Regions from separate parts of the Homo sapiens genome. Here region 2 is linked to region 1. The links are contacts of gene promoters, found by promoter capture Hi-C in human tissues and cell types (Jung and others, 2019). All regions are on one chromosome and are shown on one strand. The core of a region is centred on a gene start or on the middle of the fragment in contact, and the rest is flanking DNA. Distances in the headings are between cores, read along the strand shown.

Region 1 (5,989 bases), core at 3,490-5,989:
ACTGGTGACTAATGAAAAATAAGGTTGATGATACTGGTCGGAAGCAGATGATTATTAGTACAGAACATTAAAAAAAAAAAAAAAGAATGCAGTTCAATAGTTCAGACTTACTATAAAACCACTGAAGAACATCACAAATAATGATAAAAGGAGTGAAGTGCTTGAGAAAAGATATTCTGACTTTTAGAAAGTTTAACAGCAAGAGACTTGTCAAACATTCCACCATTTCTTTTTCATTGACTGAGGTTCTTGGTACTAGAATGAACCCTCAAAGTTCATGTACCAATGCTTACATCTTCTCTACAGCATGTGTGCAAAGAAATCATCTGGCTTTTGCCTGAACACCTGTGGAGTTGGGAAACTCACTACTTCCTGTAGCTGCCCATTCTGCTTTGAGCCATTCTAACAGAAAGAAAGTTCTACCACAAGGGGAATCAGTGACTGCTTCCCAGAAGTTTTTATCCCTGTGTTCCTCCAGAATGACAAAGAACAAGTCTAATCCCTCTTCTACAATTAAGTGTAGCAATTATAGCCCCACTAAATATTTTCTTCTCCAGGTTAAACATTCCCTGTCCTGTCAAATATTCTTCATATGGCAGGAATGAGAATCTCTTTTGGATACATTCCAGTTTTCAAGTTATTGCTAACTCCTTAGAATAGAATTTTAGAGTTAGCTGCTCAACTTTCATGTAAGTAGAAACAAAAAGGTTTAAAGTGCTAACGCACTTCTGCTCCAATCAACAAACTTCGGAGCTTAGCATTCGTGCTTTGTACACTTGGGAGAGGTGAAAGACACAAACAGGACTTTCTTTAGAAAATCTGTGTTTGTTTCTAGGGATGACTTTCAGGTGGCATTCTGCCCAAAGGTCATTGTTCTTCCCTATCCAAAAGTATTGAATTGGAGAAATAGCCTAGCTCACTGATAGTGACAGAAATTAAAAGTAAACATCATGGACCACACATCATAATAACAAAATAATAACATCATATTAACAGCTACCTTTACAGAGCTCTTGGCAGGTGTCCAGCATTATTCTAAGTGCTGCATAGGTATTATCTTTTTTAATGCTATCTTTATCACCACTTTATGGATAAGGTTAGTGACTAGCCCAAAGCACTAGTAAAGGAGATTAAAAAGCAGTCCCATGAGGTAGGAGAAAAACTCAGAAGGAAACAGAATCTAAAAACCCAAAATAAGAAACTGTTTCAAGGAGAGAATGGTTAACTTTACCAAATGCTGAAAGTGAAGTAGGAAGAGGACAGAGGACCACAGAAGCTGGAGGATGTGGCTGTAGGTGGCATAAATAAGAGCAATTTTATTGGATTAGTGGGACTGAAAGCCAGACTGGAGCAAACAAGAGAGGCTGTGAGGCAAGGAAGTAGATGAGGAGTATACACAATCCTTCTGAAAAAGGAGAAATGGAACTAGAGAAAACAAGGACAGGAATAGGTTTGTTTGTTTGTTTTAAATATGAGTTAACATTTATGTGCTGATGGAAATGACATGATTTCCATGGTAGAGGTAGAAAATTACTGATTCAGGAAAGGGAATGAATAGTTGAGAGAGGATAAGATTGAATGCAAAGTGAAGGAACTGGCCACAGATTGGAACAGAAGGAGCTCACCCACTGTAACAAGAGAAAAGGCAAAGAATTATCACATATCAACTATTAGAGTTTATGGTGGGAAAATGACTGTTCTCATCTGATTCCTTTGATTTCTCTGTAAAGCTGAGAATGAGACAAAAGCACATGTTAGAGGTTTTAGGAAACTCGCTATGTTAAGTAATGATTATGGAGACAAGGAAACCAAATTTCCTAGAAAAATGTAGCACTGAAAATCTACTTGAGATTTGTATTCATGAATTTAAAATAAGGCCAGTTAGTCTGAAGTTTTCCCTAGCCCCGTTCTCCATTGCTCAGTGGCAGGCAGCAAATTACGTGGAAAGTTTTGTTTAATCAGGGTCAATGTTTTTTACGACAATGGGAGTTGGGCTGGGGAGTTGAGGATGCATAAAAGGGAATGATAAGAGTGAAGAGTAAGGAAATGAGGACATAGGATAAGACAGGCAAAAGATGGCAGAGTCAATGAACTGGGAAGAATTACTTGAGTTGAGGAATTAATACCTCAAAGGACTGTTAAGAGGATTAAACATACATAAACCACGTAGCACATTACCTAGAGCACATTAAGCATTCTATGAATAATAGTTGCTTTTATTACTTTGAAATTTCTCAGAAGGTAATGTCACACTAACCTCACATGGCTATTGTTTTTTTTTAATAATTATGGGCCAAGAATTATTCTAGAAACTGTGACTATCACAGTAAAATACAAAACCCTGGCTTCATGAAGCTCACAGTTTAAAGGGTTAATGAGAATAACATATGGGCAAGCATCTGTCACAGTGCCTTGCAAATACTAGGTGCTCAATAAATATAAATTATTACTCTCTTTGGTTCCAGCCTCTCCACTTTCTTCCATTTATTATGAGTACTATTAGAAGAATGATATTCTTTATTAATTATATATTCATTATATTTCTCTGCTTAAAAACCTACATTAGTTTCCTACTGCAATACCCAAACCAATAGTCCAGACATATTTGCTTGCACACTGCATTAATTTTTTTAAGTATTTATTTAAAAAATTATATGCACGTTCTATGTAGTACCAATATGATATACACATTATAAATCATACATTACTTAGAATAGTGTGTGGCATACAGTTTAAACTACATAAGTGTTAGCTATTATTACTATAGAAAGCAATTTTTAGGAGTTCTAATTTATATTTCCACAACTTATTAGGTCCTCTTGCACAACTCCCTTTGGAGACTACCGATCTAAACTCTGCTTGGCTTTCAAAGGTCTCCATTGTCTGATCCCATCTAACACATTCAACCTCCTTTTCCACTATCCCAGATATTCAGGTAGTCATTTCACTGCCTCTTGAATACCTCATGACTCCATTCTCACCCACTTGTCTTTGCCAGAGGACTTTCCAGATCATAACAGCCCTAAAGAGACCAGTGGGAGCACTACAATTCTCCACTGGTCTTCCAATCATCCCTCAGTACCTCAAATGATACTAATCTTTCCCTTTTATGATTTCCTGTGATACTTAATAGTCTTGCCACACTTAACTATATATAGTTGTCTTACACAGTTCTGTCCTATAGTGTGTGGATTATGTTACATACTAGACTTGCCTCTACAGAATTTACTCAAAAACTTACTTTACCAGACAATAACGCAGAGTGGTTAAGAACACAAGCTATGGTGTCAGTCAGAGGAAAGTAAGTTAAAAGAGGAAAATTAATAAAAATACCTAGAACTGGAGATTGCAGATAGCAGGTACTCAATAAATAGTGATTACCATTCACAATCTACATTACGTCATACAATTGTAATAGTTTAACAAGAACCAGCAAATGTCTTTGCAAAGACATTGTGACTACAAAACCATCCACTATAAGTGATGTGCACCACCACCTTCCCAGTGGTATGCAGGAGTTCTACCCAAGATGGAAAACAAAAAAAAAAGGATCCTCTAAACACTCCTAATTCTTGCCTCAGGCTGAACATCAAGCCTATCTGTGGTGCTTTTAAAAATTTAAGGTGCAAGGAGCTAATCTCACAAATTCTGACTCAATAGCTCTACACTCAGTCCTCATTTCTAATTTTTATAAAGCTTTACGAGTGATTCTGACATGAGCCAATTTTGAAAGCAAATGATATTCTGTAACGACTAAAATACACTAAGAAAAATACAACTTTGGGGGTTTGATTGGAATATGTTTGTGGAAGAGTAGAGGGTGAAAGGACAATGATGAAGTGTAACCGTATTTCTAATTTCCTTGCTTTTTAGTGAGTGGAAGGACAAATGTATGTTTTCAGTTTGAGGAGTGGGAGCAGATCCAATCAGAACAGAAGAGAAACTAAATAATGCTAACAAATTCTAACATAGCCTTCATTCTTCACTTTCCTTTCCACCAAGCTCCTGATTCTTCTCTCCTCAAACATCACTCTCTCCCCCAGACCCCAACGCACTTTGCCGAACACATTCTACATCCGTAGAGACGCTTTTGGGTAAAAGGATGCTTTTACAAATATTAGCTCATTTAATCTTATCAGAGACTCCCTGGTATTGTAATATTATCATTTCCATTGTGCTCATATGAATTGAGACCCATTAAGGGTTTGCACAAGGTCATAAAATCAATCTAAGAAAACCTCTCGCCACTAGCCTTTTTTCCCTCCCTTACACATTTCTCCCCCCGCCCCATACAAATATTTCTCATAACCCTAAACCCTTACAACCATATCAGAATTCTGATTCTCTCGATCCCTAACGTGTCCCCCGCATTCTCCTCTTCGCTTACAGCTGCTTAAGATCTTTTGTCCCCTCCCAAGGTGGTGCACAATTGAATATGTGAGCCGGGGAAGCGGAAAGCGAAAGGAGAAACCAGACTGAGGCAGCTCCAAACCTAGAGAAACCAGAGTGTGCCTAGGAAGTTGGCGTGACCGCTGCAGCACGGTGCCACTTCCAAAACCTTAAATCCCCGTCTCGGAATCCCGACCAGGGGCCGCCGTTCCCGGTAACACTTACGTGACATTGACAGGACCCGGACAACCCGGGATTGTGCGGCAGCCGCCATCTTTTCCCACAATCCCCCACGACAGCACTCCCGGCTGACTACGGCTGCTAAGCTGGGTCAAAACTTACCTTTCTCGCCTGTCTGCGCAAGCGCTAACCAAGAAACGACGGTTTCGGGTAGATTGTTGGTTAAGAAGAAAGCTGGGAAAGTGAAGGAGAGGGGGAAGAAAGGAAGTGAAAAGACTTTGGCTGTTGGAATCTCAGATCTGGAATAGGCTGTATAGGCTATTTATAATCTCTAATTGCCGAGGAACCTGAAGTTCAGAGTTAACCAGTGACTGACTCAGGACATGCAAAATGGCAAGACCCGAGGTAGAAGAGCTCACCTTTCCTGACTCTCAGTTTCCTGTTCCCTGAAAATGTAAGCTAAGCTGGCAGCCCTGGTGAGTCCGGAGGAAGAAGGAGGCGTAGCCCTCCGCGCTCAGGAGATCCAGGGCCCAGGAGAGAGAAAAGGGGGGACAAGAACGAGGGGAAAAGTGGAGAAGAGAAACCAAAATAGGGTGTGTCCCAAGTAAATAAATGTGCGTCGAGCCCGCCAAGCACATTCTCTCATAGGGACCCTTGCGCCTGCTGTTCGCGTTTCCTGGAATGCACACTCAGGTGTCTGCACCAGCTCAAGTCTCTGCTCAAAAGTGACCTCTTCGGATAAAACTTCTCTGACCATCCTATCCAAGGTGGTAATTATTCCACCAATTTTTGGTTTAAGTTTATATACCAAAGCACTTATCACCAACTAGCATATGAATCTAGGAGTTCTTAACCAGAAGTGTGATTCATGAGTGGGCTTCGGGAAATCTGTGAACTTCCTGAAATATTATGCAAATTTAGTGGCCATGTGTGCCATCTGAACATCTGTCTAAGGAGAAACTGCAGATGGCTCTCTCTAGCGCAATGGCTTGTAATTTTTTCTTTAACTGTGGTCACCTTTGAGAATCTGCATTGTTCTACAAAGAGCCATCTAGAAACTGAGGAAATTCCAGGTTAGACTAAGCGCTTGGATTTTAAAATACTTTATTCTGGTCAACCTCTCCAGATTGCTGGGTAGGAGATGGCAACCAGTGATCCTGTGAAACATACCTTAGGCTTATCAGAAAACCACCTAGTTTGGGGAGGGCGGGTTCTTTCTAGACTTGGTAATCCTTCCAGTGCTTTGTTTTTTCAGGAAAAGTATGTGTTTCTGGGATAGACAAAAAGGCCTGTGATGAGTAGGGATGTAGAAGTTGCTTATTACTAGGCTTGAAATCTTGGCTGTTTCCACTCTATCTTGCCCCTACTGTTTACTGAAGTGTCGCCTAACAAATTGAATTGGAAGAGAGAAAAAAACCTT
Region 2 (5,989 bases), core at 1,756-4,255, 520 kb after region 1:
GGTAAACATCCAAATTAAGAAATTAGAATAAGCAAAAGAATAATCTTTTTAAAAATAGAAGGGATGAATTAATAAAGAGGAGATTTACTGAAATAGGAGCAAAAAATAAAATAGAATTAACAAAGCTGAAAAATGCTTTTTTAAAAATATGCATGCAATTGAAAACTGCCAGCAAAGGTAACTAAGAGATCAAGAGAAACGGCAAAAAAATGGCAAGATTAGTAATGAGAAAGAGGATTTCACTACTTATCATGGGCTGAACTGTATCCTCTCAAAAGCTATGTAGAGTTCCTAACTCCCAATACCTGTGAATGTCATCTTATTAAAAAAACAGGGCGCGGAGGCTCACGCCTGTAATCCCAGCACTTTGGGAGGCCGAGGCGGACAGATCACTTGAAGTCCAGAGTTCGAGACCAGCCTGGACAATATGGTAAAACCCCATCTCTACTAAAAATACAAAAAAATTTAGCCAAGTGTGGCGGCATACACCTGTAGTCCCAGCTACTCAGGAGGCTGAGGCAGGAGAATCACTTGAACCTGGGAAGCAGAGGCTGCAGTGAGCTGAGATCACGTCACTGCACTCCAGCCTGGGCAACAGAGCGAGACTCCATCTAAAAAAACAAAAAAACAAAACAAAACAAAACAAAAAACAGGGTCTTTGCAGCTGTCATCAAGCTAAGATGAGGTCAATAAGGTGAGCTCTAATCCCTTATAACTGATGTCCTTGTAAGAAGAGGAGAAGAGGCTGACGCAGACACAGGGAGAATACCATGTGAAGATAAAGTGAATATTGGAGTGATGGATTCACAAGCCAAGGAATGCCAAAGACCCCAGCCATCAGCAGAACTGGGAGAGAGGCATGGAACAGAGCACAGCGCTCAGAGGGAACCAACTCTTTCAACACCTTCATCTTGAATTCCTAGCTTCCAGAACTATGAGATAACACATTCTATTGTATTAAGCTGCCCAGTTTCTGGTACTTTGTTAAAGCAATCCTAGGAAATTAATACACTACAGATGCAATGGGAATTAAAATACAATGAGAAAATAATATGACATTTATTGCCAATAAATTTGAAAATTAAAAAAGGGACAAATGGCTAGTAAAATATTAATTGCCAAAAGGTTCAAGAGGAAGTAAAAATCCTGAATATAACTATTTAAAACCATTAAATTGAGGTAATGAACACTTAACAACCTCACTACAAAGAAAATATCAGGGCCGGAGGCCGGGCACGGTGGCTCATGCCTGTACTCCCAGCACTTTGGGAGGCCGAGGCGGGTGGATCACCTGAGGTTGGGAGTTCAAGAACAGCCTGACCAACATGGAGAAACTCCGTCTCTACTAAAAATACACAATTAGCCGGGCATGGTGGCACATGCCTGTAATCCCAGTTACTCAGGAAGCTGAGGCAGGAGAATCACTGGAATCCAGGAGGCGGAGGTTGTGGTGAGCCAAGATCGTGCCCTTGCACTCCAGCCTGGGCAGTAAGAGTGAAACTCCGTCTCAAACAAACAAACAAACAAAAAACAGAAAAGAAAATATCAATCCCAGATGATTTTATAGGCAAGATAGGTCCGACATTAAAGAAAAAGATAATTCCAATATTATTTAAATTCTTCTATAGAGTAGAAGAAAAGGAAACATTCCCCTAGTCATTTTTATGAGGCCAGCAGATGCTTGATACTAAAATTAGATATAGTTGTAGGAAAAAAAATCACAGAACCATTTCACTAACAAACATAGATGCAAAACTCCTTAACACGGTATTAACATATTAACACTAACCATGTATTTAAAAGATAATCAATGAAGACCAAGTTTAATTCATTCCACAAATGCAAAGCAGGTCAGCATCAGAAAATTTCTAAATGTAGTTCATCACTTGATCATTCCTTAAAAGGAGAAAAGCCATATGATCATCTCAATAGAGGAAGAAAGTGTTTAATAACATTCAATATTTCTTTATGATAACCATTCTTGACCAACGAGGAATCAAAGGTGATTTAACCTGTTATGAGTTTTACGTGTGTGGATGCATGCATGCATGTGCACATGCTCACAGACACACACACACACATACACACACACATGCGGTTGTAGTAACTACATATTCAACAGTAAAATATTTTAAAATTTCTCTTTGGGATCAATAGCCGGCCAAGGCTATTATTTTCATTGGTTCGTTCAATGTTGCTGGAAATTCTGGCCAGTACACTACGAAAGAAAAGGAAACGGAAAGAAATGGAAAGGAAAGAAAGAGATAACCTAAAGTATTTTTAGGTTAAATTTTAAGTTAAATTAGTAGGATGAGGCTGGGCATGGTAGTTCCTACCTGTAATCCCAGCACTTTGGGAGGCCAGGGTGGGTGGACTGCCTGAGCTCAGGAGTTCGAGATCAGCCTGGGCAACATAACGATATCTCATCTCTACAAATAATACAAAAATTAGCCAGGTGCAATGGTGTGTACCTGCAGTCCCAGCTACTTTCAGGGCTGAGGTGGGAGGATTGCTTGAGCCCAGGATGTTGAGGCTGCAGTGAGCCGAGATCCTGCCACTGCACTCCAGCCTGGGTAACAGAGTGAGACCCTGTCTCAAAAAACAAAAAAATTACTAAGATGAATAGGAAAGTTTATCAAAGCTGTCAGATAAAAGATCACAATACAAAAGTTAATTTTTATGCACCACCAGGGAATTCACTTTAAAAAAAGGATAACATGAGGGTAACAAAAAGTAAGATACCAAGGAATATTTTACAGATGTGCCAGTCTTTTATGAGGAAAAATACAAAATGTTCTCAAACCTCATTTGGAATGACTACATAAAATGAAGAGATAAGCCATGGCTTGGGTAGGAAGACTCACTCATGAACAACTGCAAATTCTTCTGATTTTGATTTTTTTTTAGGTTCAGTTAAATTGTAACAAAAATACCAGCAGTTGGGTTGTTTTTTGGTTTTGGTACCATGTGGCAGTCTGATTTCAAAATTTAATTGAAGCACAAAAGACCAGGAATAGCTGAGAAACTCCTAAAGAAGTCAAGGTGAGGAGATTATCCTACTCAACATCAAGACTTATTCAAAAGCTATGGTAGTTAAGACAGTTGGTAATGATAAAAGAACAAACAGATCAATGGGACAAGATACAGTTCAGAAACCAATTCATACATATTTAGAAACTTGATATAATATAATACAGAATGGCCACTGAAGATCAGTGGGGAAAATATAGATTATTCGATACATGGTGCTGGGACAGCTGGTTTTCCATGTGAAATTGCATCTATACCTCACACAGTATATGTAATTTTTAAAAACTTAAGATGAATTAAAATTTAAATATAAAAGTCCAAACTTTAGACCTTTTAGCAGAAAACGCTGGCAAGGATCTTTATGAATTTAAGATATGGCAGGATTTTATAAACAGAGCACAATATGTAAAATAACAGAAGAGAATGGATTGATAATTTTGATCATGTTAAAATGAAGAACTTCTGGTCATCAAGTCGCCATTAAAGGAACAAAAAGGTACAGACTGAGAAATGTATTGGTATTCAGCATGTATAAAGAATTCATCTAATCAGTAAGAAAAACACAACTTAATAGAAAAGTGAGCAAAAGACACAAACAGGCGTTTTACATAAAAGGAAAGCTGAGTGGCCAAAGAGTCTGAGAAAGGATGTTTAACCTCTCTAATATCCAGGGATGTGCAAACTGAAACCACAAAGTGTGATTTTTAAGTTAAAAAGTCTACCAGCACCAAGCGTAGATAACGAGGAACACTGAAAACTTTTGTGCGCTGCTGCCGGGTGTGAAGATTGGTATGAGACTCTGGAAAATGGTTTGGTCTTCTCTAGCGCAGATGAAGGTTCTTGGCATATGAATCTTGCTACCTGGGGACCCAGTAACTCCATACCTAGGTTCAAACCCTGGAGAAACTTTGAACATGTACACGATTTTTTTCTTTTTTTGAGATGGAGTCTCGCTCTGTCCCCCAGGCTGGAGTGCAGTGGCACGATCTCGGCTCACTGCAAGCTCTGCCTCCCGGGTTCACGCCATTCTCCTGCCTCAGCCTCCCGAGTAGCTGGGACTACAGGCACCCACCACCATGCCTGGCTAATTTTTTCGTATTTTTAGTAGAGATGGGGTTTCACCGTATTAGCCAGGATGGTCTTGATCTCCTGACCTCGTGATCTGCCCGCCTCGGCCTCCCAAAGTGCTGGGATTACAGGTGTGAGCCACCGCGCCCGGCCAAACGTGTACGCTATTATTAAACATGTACACAAATGTTCACACAGCATAGTGTGGGACAGCTGAAACCTATAAGCAATCTACGTGTCAACCAACAGTAGAATGATACAAAATTATGGTGTACAAACACAAAGGAACACTATACAATTATGAAAATGAAGAGATTGGAGGTATGCATCAACTGGATAGACGGATAGATTTATCACCAATGCAGATAGATCTCAAAATTAATGTTGTGAAAAAAGTAAACGAAGGATATGTAAAGTATGATGCCACTTATATAAACGTCAAAAAATGAACAGTATCCTAATTTCAAGGCTTACTAGAAAGCTACAACAATCAAGACATTGTAGTATTGGTCTATGGTGTAATAGAGACACAGATAAATGGAAAAGAATAGGGAATCCAGAAATCAATCACACATATGTGGTCAACTCACTTTTGACAAAAGTATCAAGGCAATTTAGTGAGAAAGTACAGACTTTTCAACAAACACGGTGCTGGAGCATTTAGACACCCAAATGAAAAAGAATAAACCTTGATTCAGACCTCACACCATATATAAAGAGTAACTCAAAATGGATCAGAGACCTAAATGTAAAACCTAAAACTATAAAACTGCTAACATAAACAGGGGAAAATCTTTGTGACTTTAGGCTATTCAAAGATGTCTTAGAGGACACTGAAAGCATTAACTGTAAAAGAAAAAAGGAATAAAATGGGCTTCATCAAAACTAAAAACTTCTACTCTTTGAAAGCTAAGGTTAGGTGACTAGAAAGACAAGTCACAGAATAAGAGAAAATATTTGCTATATATATATCTGATAAAGCACTGGTATCCAGAATATATAAAGAACATGCACAACACGATAATCAGAAAGTAAACAATCCAATAAAAAAGAGGCACAAAGATTCCAACAGAAACTTCCCAAGAGAAGAGATACAAATTACAAAAAACTGCATGAAAAGGTGTTCAACATCATTAGTCATTAGAATATGCAAATTAAAACATCTATTTATGATTTATTTATTTATTTAATTTTATTTTTTTTTTTGAGATGGAATTTTGTTCTTGTCACCCAGGTTGGAGTGCAATGGTGCAATCTCGGCTCCCTGCAGCCTCTGCCTCCCACGTTCAAGTGATTCTCATGCCTCAGACTCCCGAGTAGTTGGGATTACAGGCTCCTGCCACCACGCCCGGCTAATTTTTGTATTTTTAGTAGAGATGGGGTTTCAGCTTGTTGGTCAGGCTGGTCTCGGACTCCTGACCTCAGGCGATCTGCCCGCCTCGGCCTCCCAAAGTGCTGGGACTACAGGCATGAGCCACCGTGCCCGGCCAAAACTATTTTTATAAGTAGGTATTTCAGAAATATCTGAGAGTGAGGGAGTTCCGCAGGATTCTGAAGAGAGACACAGGTGGCCTCAATGGTTTGGTGGTGTCCTGTGTTTTAAGGTGGAAGCTGAATGGAAATCAGCTGTTAAAACAGGATGGTATTATTCGGGAGGAAGGGATGAAGCCCTAGCCCCGTCCTCCTGGCTTGGAGTCAGGGTCATCAGTCATCCACCCGCCTGGAAGCGCCTAGGGGGAAGTGAGGGTGACCGCAGGTGTGGAAGTTTGAGCAACAAAAGGAGGGACAGGCACTGTTCACTGTCCCCCGAACATCATTCTCCACTCCTCCTTGTGGAGCACTTGAGAATGTAGCTGGAGACAGAGGTAGCCCTTAGTGCTCTCCCCATCCT

The links. The method cuts DNA at HindIII sites, captures the fragments that hold promoters and counts their contacts. A contact is called where the count stands out against the background at its distance.
Region 2: a contact is called between a fragment that was not itself captured here and the fragment with the promoter of AKAP3 in region 1, in 1 of the 25 tissues and cell types used here (mesenchymal stem cells).

Annotation. Positions count from the first base shown.
Region 1 is chr12:4,647,801-4,653,789 of GRCh38, reverse strand. AKAP3 (A-kinase anchoring protein 3) reads left to right here and starts at 4,739. Exons shown (of 6, transcript NM_001278309.2): 1 at 4,739-5,045. NDUFA9 (NADH:ubiquinone oxidoreductase subunit A9) reads right to left here and starts at 4,676. Exons shown (of 11, transcript NM_005002.5): 1 at 4,615-4,676. The coding sequence starts at 4,663. RefSeq lists enhancers at 4,251-4,906, 4,775-4,984, 5,265-5,314. The HindIII fragment of the contact is 5,598 bases long and covers 1-4,851 here.
Region 2 is chr12:4,124,599-4,130,587 of GRCh38, reverse strand. No RefSeq gene overlaps it. Among named protein-coding and RNA genes, the nearest start is that of LINC03141, 120 kb to the right of the region's middle. The HindIII fragment of the contact is 9,017 bases long and covers 1-5,989 here.